3 separate regions of the Homo sapiens genome follow, and regions 2 and 3 are each linked to region 1. Evidence: promoter capture Hi-C in human tissues and cell types (Jung and others, 2019). All regions are on one chromosome and are shown on one strand. Each heading gives the region's core, a stretch centred on a gene start or on the middle of the fragment in contact. The rest is flanking DNA. Distances are from core to core; before and after follow the strand shown.

Evidence for each region. Contacts are between HindIII fragments. The study calls those that stand out against the background at their distance.
Region 2: a contact is called between a fragment that was not itself captured here and the fragment with the promoter of ZNF626 in region 1, in 1 of the 25 tissues and cell types used here (dorsolateral prefrontal cortex).
Region 3: a fragment that was not itself captured here is called in contact with the fragment with the promoter of ZNF626 in region 1 in 1 of the 25 tissues and cell types used here (hippocampus).

What each region holds. Positions count from the first base shown.
Region 1 is chr19:20,659,826-20,662,918 of GRCh38, reverse strand. ZNF626 (zinc finger protein 626) reads left to right here and starts at 1,348. Exons shown (of 4, transcript NM_001076675.3): 1 at 1,348-1,475. The coding sequence starts at 1,473. RefSeq lists a silencer at 1,154-1,223. The HindIII fragment of the contact is 1,409 bases long and covers 943-2,351 here.
Region 2 is chr19:20,989,902-20,992,938 of GRCh38, reverse strand. No RefSeq gene overlaps it. Among named protein-coding and RNA genes, the nearest start is that of ZNF430, 29 kb to the left of the region's middle. The HindIII fragment of the contact is 4,218 bases long and covers 1-3,037 here.
Region 3 is chr19:21,009,999-21,013,277 of GRCh38, reverse strand. No RefSeq gene overlaps it. Among named protein-coding and RNA genes, the nearest start is that of ZNF430, 9.0 kb to the left of the region's middle. The HindIII fragment of the contact is 6,310 bases long and covers 1-3,279 here.

The DNA.
Region 1 (3,093 bases), core at 99-2,598:
ATCCTAGCTCTTTTTGTAACAAGTTGTTTGGCATGAGGCCCAGTTGCAACTGGGCTCTTTGCAACTGGGCTCAAGGAACACAAAAAAGTCAACTTGTTTTTTTTGCGATTGGCTATTGTTTTTCAATAACTAACGTATAGGAATAGATTAAAATAGAGATTTCTCCAAAACAATCTGTGCCCAGTTCTCTTTGCCCAGCTTGGCCTCAGTCCCATTCAGCCAGAAGATGGCAGCTGCGCTGACAGCCAGGCCCCCAGAAGTCCTGCCTCTTCACTGCGCTGTGACTGTGCCCTGGCCTGGAGCCCACTTTGGGCAGCTCTGCACCTGCAGCATGGCGTCTCTCCCAGATTGTGCAGGGACCAGGGGAAGGTCGGCAGGTGAATGCCTCAAGGGGCTCACATAACCTGTTCCAGGACTTGGTGACCATTGTTTGTGTCCATGTTCAACTGAGTTCAAATTTAATATTTAACTTTTCCTCCACAAATTCCCCTGTCTTGATGAATCATCTCTGTCTAGGCAAGATGAAGCCCTTAGGCCGTTACACAACCTCCGCCTCCTGGGTTCAAGCGATTCCCCTGCTTCAGCCGCCGTAGCACCTGGGACTACAGGTGTGTACCACCACACCTGGCTAATTTTTTGTGTTTTTACTAGAGATGAGATTCAACATGTTGGCCAGGCTGGTCTTGAACTCCTGACCTGAAGTGATCCACCCACTTTGGCCTCCCAAAGTGCTTGGATTACAAGCGTGCACCAGCGGACTGGCCCTAAATGATTTCTTTGTCTCTTGTAACAGTTTGAAATTACTTAAAGGTTGTTTCAAATTGAAAAAATAAAAAGAATGTAGATAAAAATAAAATATAAAAAGTTAAAAAATTACATTAGATTACAAAATATGTATGTAAATCTCGAGAGGTCAAAAATGACAAATTTGATTTTTTATAAGGTTTTATCAAAATTACCTTTAGTATTGATAATACATTATTGCCAAAGTAAAAGTTGATTTTCTCTTGAACAAAAATTTTATGTATTATTAATATGAGAGCAAAATACTTCTGTTCACCTTTTGAATACATTCAAAAAGAGAGAGAGTAAAGAAAAGATAGAATTCTCCCATGCTCTGGGGTGGGCCTGGCTCAGCTCAGGAAGGAAGCCCTGCCTGAAAAGGCTGCAGCTTAGGCTGTCACTCTTTCTTCACTCAGCTCAGCGTCTGATCACATCTACTGTCACTCAGGGCCTCAGGGGGCGGGGCCTTAAGCATTATCCAATCAGGGATGGTGGGCTGGAAACCATCCAATCAGGAACGCAGCTGGAGCGAAGAGGACGGTTTCCGGGTTTGGTGCGGCCTTTGTCTCTCGCTGCAGTCAGAGCTCCAGGTCTGGTTCTTCTCCTAAAGGCCCAGGCTGTGTGGCCCCGTGTCCTGCAGGTATTGGGAGATCCACAGCTAAGACACCGGGACCTCCTGGAAGCCAAAAATGGTGAGAGTGAGGGTCCGACATCCCGAGAGAGGAGAGGGACTGGTTGGAACCGGTGAAAAGTGGCTGTGGCGGGACTCAGGCCTCCCCGCAGTCAGCTCCACAGTCTGCTCCCCCAGTTCTCCTTGCTCAGCTCGGCCTCAGTCCTGTTCAGCCATAAAATGGCAGCTGCGCTGACAGCCGGCACCCGGGCGTCTTGTCTCTTCACTGCGCGGTGACTACCCTGGCCTGGAGCCCTCTCTGGGCAGCTCTGCACCCGCAGCGTGGCGTCTCTCCCAGATTGTGCAGGGACCAGGGGAGGGTGGGCAGGGGAGAATCCTGACTCGGGGTGCGGGTTCATGAATGGGAAGAGCTTTGTTCCTTTGGGTTTACAGTTTCTCTTTTCTCCTATTAAAAATGTATGGGGCCGGACGCTGTGGCTCACGCCTGTAATCCCAACGTTTTGGGAGGCCGAGGCGGGCGGATCACTTGAGGTAAAGAGGTGTTAGGACAACTAAGTTCCTTTTAAATGACTCAACTTTCTGGTCATAAGTTGTAAAAGTTGTAAATCAACCCTACCTCTTCTTCTACCCCCTTTTCCTTTTCTCGCAAATCGCGCATTTACTTTATTTGGAAAAAGTTTGGGTCTAAGCTTACCAGGATCAGCTTAGATTGTGCGGTCTGATCCCAGCCAATAGGGGATGGAAACAAAAACAGGAACTGCATTAGGGTTCAAAACCCCTTTCTTGCTGGGCGCGGTGGCTCAAGCCTGTAATCCCAGCACTTCGGAGGCCGAGGCAGGTGGATCACGTGGTCAGGAGTTCTAGACCAGCCTGGCCAACGTGGTGAAACCCGTCTCTACTAAAAATACGAAAACTATCGGCGTGTTGGCACGTGCCTGTAGTACCAGCCACTTGGGAGGCTGAGGCACGAGAATTGCTTGAACCCGGGAGGCGGAAGTTGCAGTGAGCTGAGATCCAATCATCGCGCTCCAGCCTGCGTGACAAAGCGAGACTCCGGCTCAAAAAAAAGAAAAAAAAAGTAAGCATCTTAAAAATTCCTTTATGTAAACATTGTGAGTAATTTCACTGGAGTTTCTAACACTTAGTTTCAAAAACCAAGTGAATAACTGATGTGGACATTAAAGCTTGAACCTAGTGACTCCAAGCTAAGGCTAATATTAAGCCTGCAACAGGGTATTTTTTTTTTTTTTTTTTTTTTTTTAGACACAGTGTCGCTTGTGGTGCCCAGGCTGGAATGTAATGGCGTGATCTCGGCTTACTGGGTTCAAGCGATTCTCCTACCTCAGCCCCACCAGTAGCTGGGATTACAGGCATGCACCATCACGCCCGGCTAATTTTGGTGTTTAGTAGAGACGGGTTTTCTCCATGTTTGTCAGGCTGGTCTTGAACTCTCTGCCTCAGACCCGCTTCGGCCTCCCAAAGTGCTGGCATTATCGGTGTGAGCCACCGCACCCGGCCAACAGGAGGTTATTAAAGGCCCTGTTATTTTTTTCTGGGGAGTCTCCCTTGCGGATATCTCAAGACTGCTCACCCCAGCCACGGAAGGAGCCTTCATTCTGAAAGAAGCTACAAAGCCTTGGAAAGCTGGGGCCCCACAGGCAGATGCAGTCAAGATTAAG
Region 2 (3,037 bases), core at 280-2,779, 330 kb before region 1:
GATATTTTATTCTCTTTGTAGCAATTGTGAATGAGATTTCAGTCATGATTTGGCTCTCCGCTTGTCTATTGTTGTTGTTTAGGAATGCTTGTGTGTTTTTTTTGTTTCTTTTTGTTTTTGAGACGGAGTCTTGCTCTGTCACCCAGGCTGGAGTCCAGCGGTGCAACCTTGGCTCACTGCAACCTCCGCCTCCTGGGTTCAAGCGATTCTCCTGCCTCAGCCTCATGAGTAGCTGGGATTACAGGCACACACCATCATGCCTGGCTAATTTTTGTATTTTTAGTAGAGACGGCATTTCACCATGTTGGCCAGGATGGTCTCGATCTCTTGACCCCATGATCTGCCCACCTCAGCCTCCCAAAGTGCTGGGATTACAGGCACGAGCCACCATGCCAGGCCTATGCTTGTGATTTTTGCACATTGATTTTGTATCCTGAGACTTTACTAAAGTTGCTTATCAGCTTAAGGAGTTTTTGGGCTGAGATGATGGGGTTTTCTAAATATACAATCATGTCATTTGCAAACAGAGACAATTTGACTTCCTGTCTTCCTATTTGAATACACATTATTCCTTTCTCTTGCCTGATTGCCCTGGCCAGAACTTACAATATGATGTTGAGTAGGAGTGGTGAGAGAGGGCATCCTTGTCTTGTGCCGGTTTTCAAAGGGAAAGCTTCCAGCTATTGTTCATTCAGTATGATATTGGCTATGGGTTTGTCATCAATAGCTCTTATTATTTTGAGGTGTGTTCCATCCATACCTAGTTTTTTAAGAGTTTTTAGCATGAAGGGATGTTGAAGTTTATCAAAGGCCCTTTCTCCATCTATTGAGATAATCATGTGGTTTTTGTCATTGGTTCTGTTTATGTGATGGATTATGTTGGTTGATTTGTGTATGTTGAACCAGCCTTGCATCTCAGGGATGAAGCCCACCTGATCATGGTGGATAAGCTTTTTGATGTGCTGCTGGATTTGGTTTGCCAGTATTTTATTGAGGATTTTCGCATTGATGTTCATCAGGGATATTGGCCTGAAATTTTTTTTTTTATTGTGTCTCTGCCAGGTTTTGGTATCAGGATGATGCTAGCCTCATAAAATGAGTTAGGGAGGAGTCCCTCTTTTGCTATTGTTTGAAATCATTTCAGAAGGAATGGTACTAGCTCCTCTTTGTACCTCTGGTAGAATTCAGCTGTGAATCCATCTGGGCCTGGGCATTTTTTGGTTGGTAGCCTGTTAATTACTGCCTCAGTTTCAGAACTTGCTATTGGTTTATTCAGGGATTCATCTTCTTCCTGGTTTAGTCTTGGGAGGGTGTATGTGTCCAGGAATTTATTCATTTCTTCTAAATTTTCAAGTTTATTTGCATAGAGATGTTTATAGTATTCTCTTATAGTAGTTTGTATTTCTGTGGGATCAGTGGTAATAGCCCCTTTATCATTTTTTATTGTGCCTATTTGATTCTTGTCTCTTTTCTTCTATACTAGTCTAGCTAGTAGTCTATCTATTTTGTTAATCTTTTCAAAAAACCAGTTCCTAGATTAATTGATTATTTGAAGGTTTTTTGTGTCTCTATCTCCTTCAGTTCTGCTCTGGTATTAGTTATTTCTTGTATTCTGTTCGCTTTTGAATTTGTTTGCTCTTGCTTCTCTAGTTCTTTTAATTGTGATTTTAGGGTGTTGATTTTAGATCTTTCCAGCTTTCTGTTGTGGGTATTTAGTGCTATAAATTTACCTCTTAACACTGCTTTAGCTGTGTTAGATTCTGGTCCCAGAGATTCTGATACACTGTGTCTTTGTTCTCATTGGTTTCAAAGAACTTATTTACTTCTGCCTTCATTTCGTTATTTACCCAGTAGTCATTCAGGAGCAGGTTGTTCAATTTCCATGTAGTTGTGAGGTTTTGAATGCGTTTCTTAATCCTGAGTTCTAATTTGATTGTCCTGTGGTCTGAGAGACTGTTTGGTATGATTTTCATTCTTTTGCATTTGCTGAGGAACGTTTTACTTCCAATTATGTGGTCAATTTTAGAATACGTGCTGTGTGGCACTGAGAAGAATTTATATTCTGTTGATTTGGTGTGGAGAGTACTGTAGATGTCCATTAGGTCTGCTTGGTCCAGAGCTGAGTTCAAGTCCTGAATATCCTTATTAATTTTCTGTCTCCTTGATCTGTCTAATATTAACAGAGGGGTGTTAAAGTCTCCCACTATTATTGTGTGGGAGTCTAAGTCTCTTTGTAGATCTCTAAGAACTTGTTTTATGAATCTGGGCACTCGTGTATTGGGTGCTTATATGTTTAGGATAGTTAATTCTTCTTGTTGCATTGATCCCTTTACCATTATGTAATGCCCTTCTTTTTATTTTTTGATCTTTTTTGGTTTAAAGTCTATTTTATCAGAGACTAGGATTGCAACCCCAGCTTTTTTTTTTCTTTTCATTTGTTTGGTAAATATTCCTGCATACCTTTATTTTGAGCCTATATGTGTCTTTGCATGTGAGATAGGTCTCCTGAATACAGCACACTGATAGGTCTTGACTCTTTATCCAGTTAGCCAGTCTATGTCTTTAAATTGGGGCATTTAGCCCATTTAAATTTAAGGTTAATATTGTTATGTGTGAATTTGATCCTGTCATCATGATGCTAGCTGGTTATTTTTCATGTTAGTTGATGCAGTTTCTTCATAGTGTCATTGGTCTTTATATTTTGGTGTGTTTTTACAGTGGCTGGTACCAGTTTTTCCTTTCCATATTTAGTGCTTCCTTCAGGAGCTCTTGTAAGGCAGGCATGGTGGTGATGAAATCCCTCAGCATTTGCTTGTCTGTAAAGGATTTTCTTTCTCATTCGCTTATGAAGCTTACTTTGGCTGGATATGAAATTCTGGGTTGAAAATTCTTTTCTTCAAGAATGTTGAATATTGGCCCGTACTCTCTTCTGGCTTGTAGGATTTTCACAGAGAAATCTGCTGTTAGTCTGATGGGCTTACCTTTGTATTTAACCTGACCTTTCTGTCTGGCTGCCCTTAACATTTTGTCCTTCATT
Region 3 (3,279 bases), core at 333-2,832, 350 kb before region 1:
AGTGGCGCGATCTCGGCTCACTGCAAGCTCCATCCCCCGAGTTCATGCCATTCTCCTGCCTCAGCCTCCCGAGTAACTGGGACTACAGGTGCCTGCCACCATGCCCGGCTAATTTTTTTTTTTTTTTTTTGTATTTTTAGAAGAGACGGGGTTTCACCGTGTTCGCCAGGATGGTCTCAATCTCCTGACCTTGTGATCCACCCGCCTTGGTCTCCCAAAGTGTACATGAAGTTTGGATTGTCTTCTCAGGATTATATGTTTGAGAGGAAAAAAACGGTCCTAACCTATTTTGGTAGTTAGGACAGTCACCACACACACACACACACACACACACACACACACACACACACATTTAATTTATATTTAACTTAGATTATTATTATGTATTTTTTTGAGATGGAGTTTCACTCTTATTGCCCAGGCTGGACTGCAATGGCACCATCTCAGCTCGCTGCAACCTCTGCCTCCCAGGTTCAAGTGATTCTCCTGCCTCAGCCGCCCAAGTAGCTGGGATTACAGGAGTGCACCACCACACCCAGCTAATTTTGTATTTTTAGTAGAGACAGAGTTTCTCCGTGTTGGTCAGGCTGGTCTTGAACTCCTGACCTCAGGTGATCTGCCCACCTCGGCCTCTGAAAGTGCTGGGATTACAGGCATGAGCCACTGTGCCCCGCCAACTTAGACTATTTTTTATCTCTTCTGTGGCGAGTGATAAAATGCAGTGCTTTTGATAAAGGAAGCTTTAAGAACTCAGGAATGAAAAAAGTCACTGCTGTCTAGGTTCTCTATGAGTTCACACTTAACATTAAATTTATGTCCTCTTAAATATCAAGTTTGTTTCTTCAATTTAGGTTCATAGCACTGATAACTGAGAGGTTATCATAGGTAATCTGACTTGGAACACACAGTTTACTCAAATGGCACATCTAAAAAATTTCAGTACTGGCTGATTTAGTATAAAAATGTGGCAGAGTATTTTCATAATGTATAATTCATTTTTGTTTTGCCTGGATTACTAGTTTTATTTTTTATATATATTTTTTGAGACAGAGTCTCACTCTGTGGCTCAGGCTGGAGTGCAATGGCACAATTTTGGCTCAATGCAACCTCCGCCTCCCAGGTTAAAGTGATTCTCCCCTCAGCCTCCCAAGTAGCTGGGACTACAGGCATGCACCACTATGCCTGGCTAATTTTTGTATATATATATATTTTTTTAAGTCTCTTTTTTTTCCCCATAAGTTACTGGGCTACAGGTGGTATTTGGTTACATTAGTATGTTCTTTAGTGGTGATTTGTGAGATTTTGTTGCACCCATCACCTGAGCAGTAGAGCAGTATACACTGCACCATATTGGTAGTCTCTATCCCTCATCCCCCTCCTACTCTTTCCCCAACATCCCCAAAGTCCATTGCATCATTCTTATGCCTTTGTGTCCTCATAGCTTAGCTCCCACATCTCAGTGAGGACATTCAATGTTTGATTTTCCATTCCTGAGTGACTTCACTTAGAATAATAGTCTCCAATGTTATCCAGGTCACTGCAAATGTTAATTCATTCCTTTTTATGGCTGAGTAGTATTCCATTGTGTGTGTGTGTGTGTGTGTGTGTGTGTGTGTATATGATGATATATATATATGATGTGTATATATATATATGTATATATGATATGATTCTTTCCTTCATCTTAACGTTAGATAACCTGATGACAATGTGATTAGGTGATGATCTTTTTGTGATGAATTTCTCAGGTATTCTTTGTGCTTTTTGTATTTGAATGTCTAGGCCTCTGGCAAAACCAGGTAAGTTTTCTTCAATTATTTCCCCAAATATGTTTTCCAAACTTTTAGATTTTTCTTCTTTTTCAGAAAAACCAATTATTCAGGCTTCTTTAAGGTTTTGTTCATTTTTTTTTGTCTTTGCTGGATTGTGTTAATTTGAAGATCTTGTCTTTGATCTCTGAATTTCTTTCTTCTACTTGTTCAATTCTATTGCTGAGACTTTCCAGAGCATTTTGCATTTTTATAAGTGTGTCCAATATTTCCTGAGGTTCTGATTGTTTTTTCTTTATGCTATTTCCTTGCATATTTATCCCTTATTTTTATTTTATTTACTTATTCATTATTATTTTTTATTATTTTTATTTATTATTATTTTTTGAGATAGAGTTTCACTCTTGTTGCCCAGGCTGGAGTGCAATGGCACAATCTTGGCTCACCACAACCTCTGCCTCCCGGGTTCAAGCGATTCTCCTGCCTCAGCCTCCTGAGTAGCTGGGATTACAGGCATGCTCCACCACACCTGGCTAATTTTGTATTTTTAGTAGAGATAGGGTTTCTTCACGTTGGTCAGGCTAGTCTCGAACTCCCGACCTCAGGTGATCCATCCACCTCAGCCTCCCAGAGTGCTGGGATTACAGGCATGAGCCACCAACCCAGCCTATTTTTAATTTTTTTGAGATGGAGTCTTGCTCTGTCGACCAGGCTAGAGTGCAATGGCGCAATCTTGGCTCACTACAACCTCTGCCTCCCGGGTTCAAGTGATTCTCCTGCCTCAGCCCCCTGAGTAGCTGGGATTAAAGGCTTGCACCACCACGCCTGGCTAATTTTTGTATTTTTACTAGAGACGGGGTTTCACCATGTTGGTCAGGCTGGTCTGGAACTCCTGACCTCGTGATCTGCCCACCTCTGTTGTAGCAGGATGAGACACAGACAAGAACCCCTCAGACACCGAGTTGCAGAAGGAAAGGGCTTTATTCAGCTGGCAGCATTGGAAGACTCACATCTCCAAAAACTGAGCTCCCTGAGTGAGCAATTCCTGTCCCTTTCAAGGGCTTACAACTATAACGGGGTCCGCCTGAAAAGGTCATGATTGATTGAGCAAGCAGAGGGTATGTGACTGGGGGCTGCATGTACCACTAGTCAGAACAGAACAGAACAGGATAGGGATTTTCATGATGCTTTTCCATACAATGTCTGAAATCTATAGATAACACAAGCAGTTAGGTCAGGGGTGGATTTTTAACTAGCAGGCCCAGGGCATGATGCTGGGCTATCTGCCTGTGGATTCCATTTCTGCCTTTCAGTTTTCACTTCTTCTTTCTTTGGAGGCAGAAACTAGGCATAAGACAATATGAGGGGTGGTCTCCTCCCTTTTTCCCCCCGTTTGAGAACCTCTCTCATTAGTGGAAGTTCTCACCTTTATCCTCACTACTCATGTCTTCCTGTAAGACAGATCGATAGTGATTCATATAGTACACTTGTGCTGAAGCATTTTGGTGAA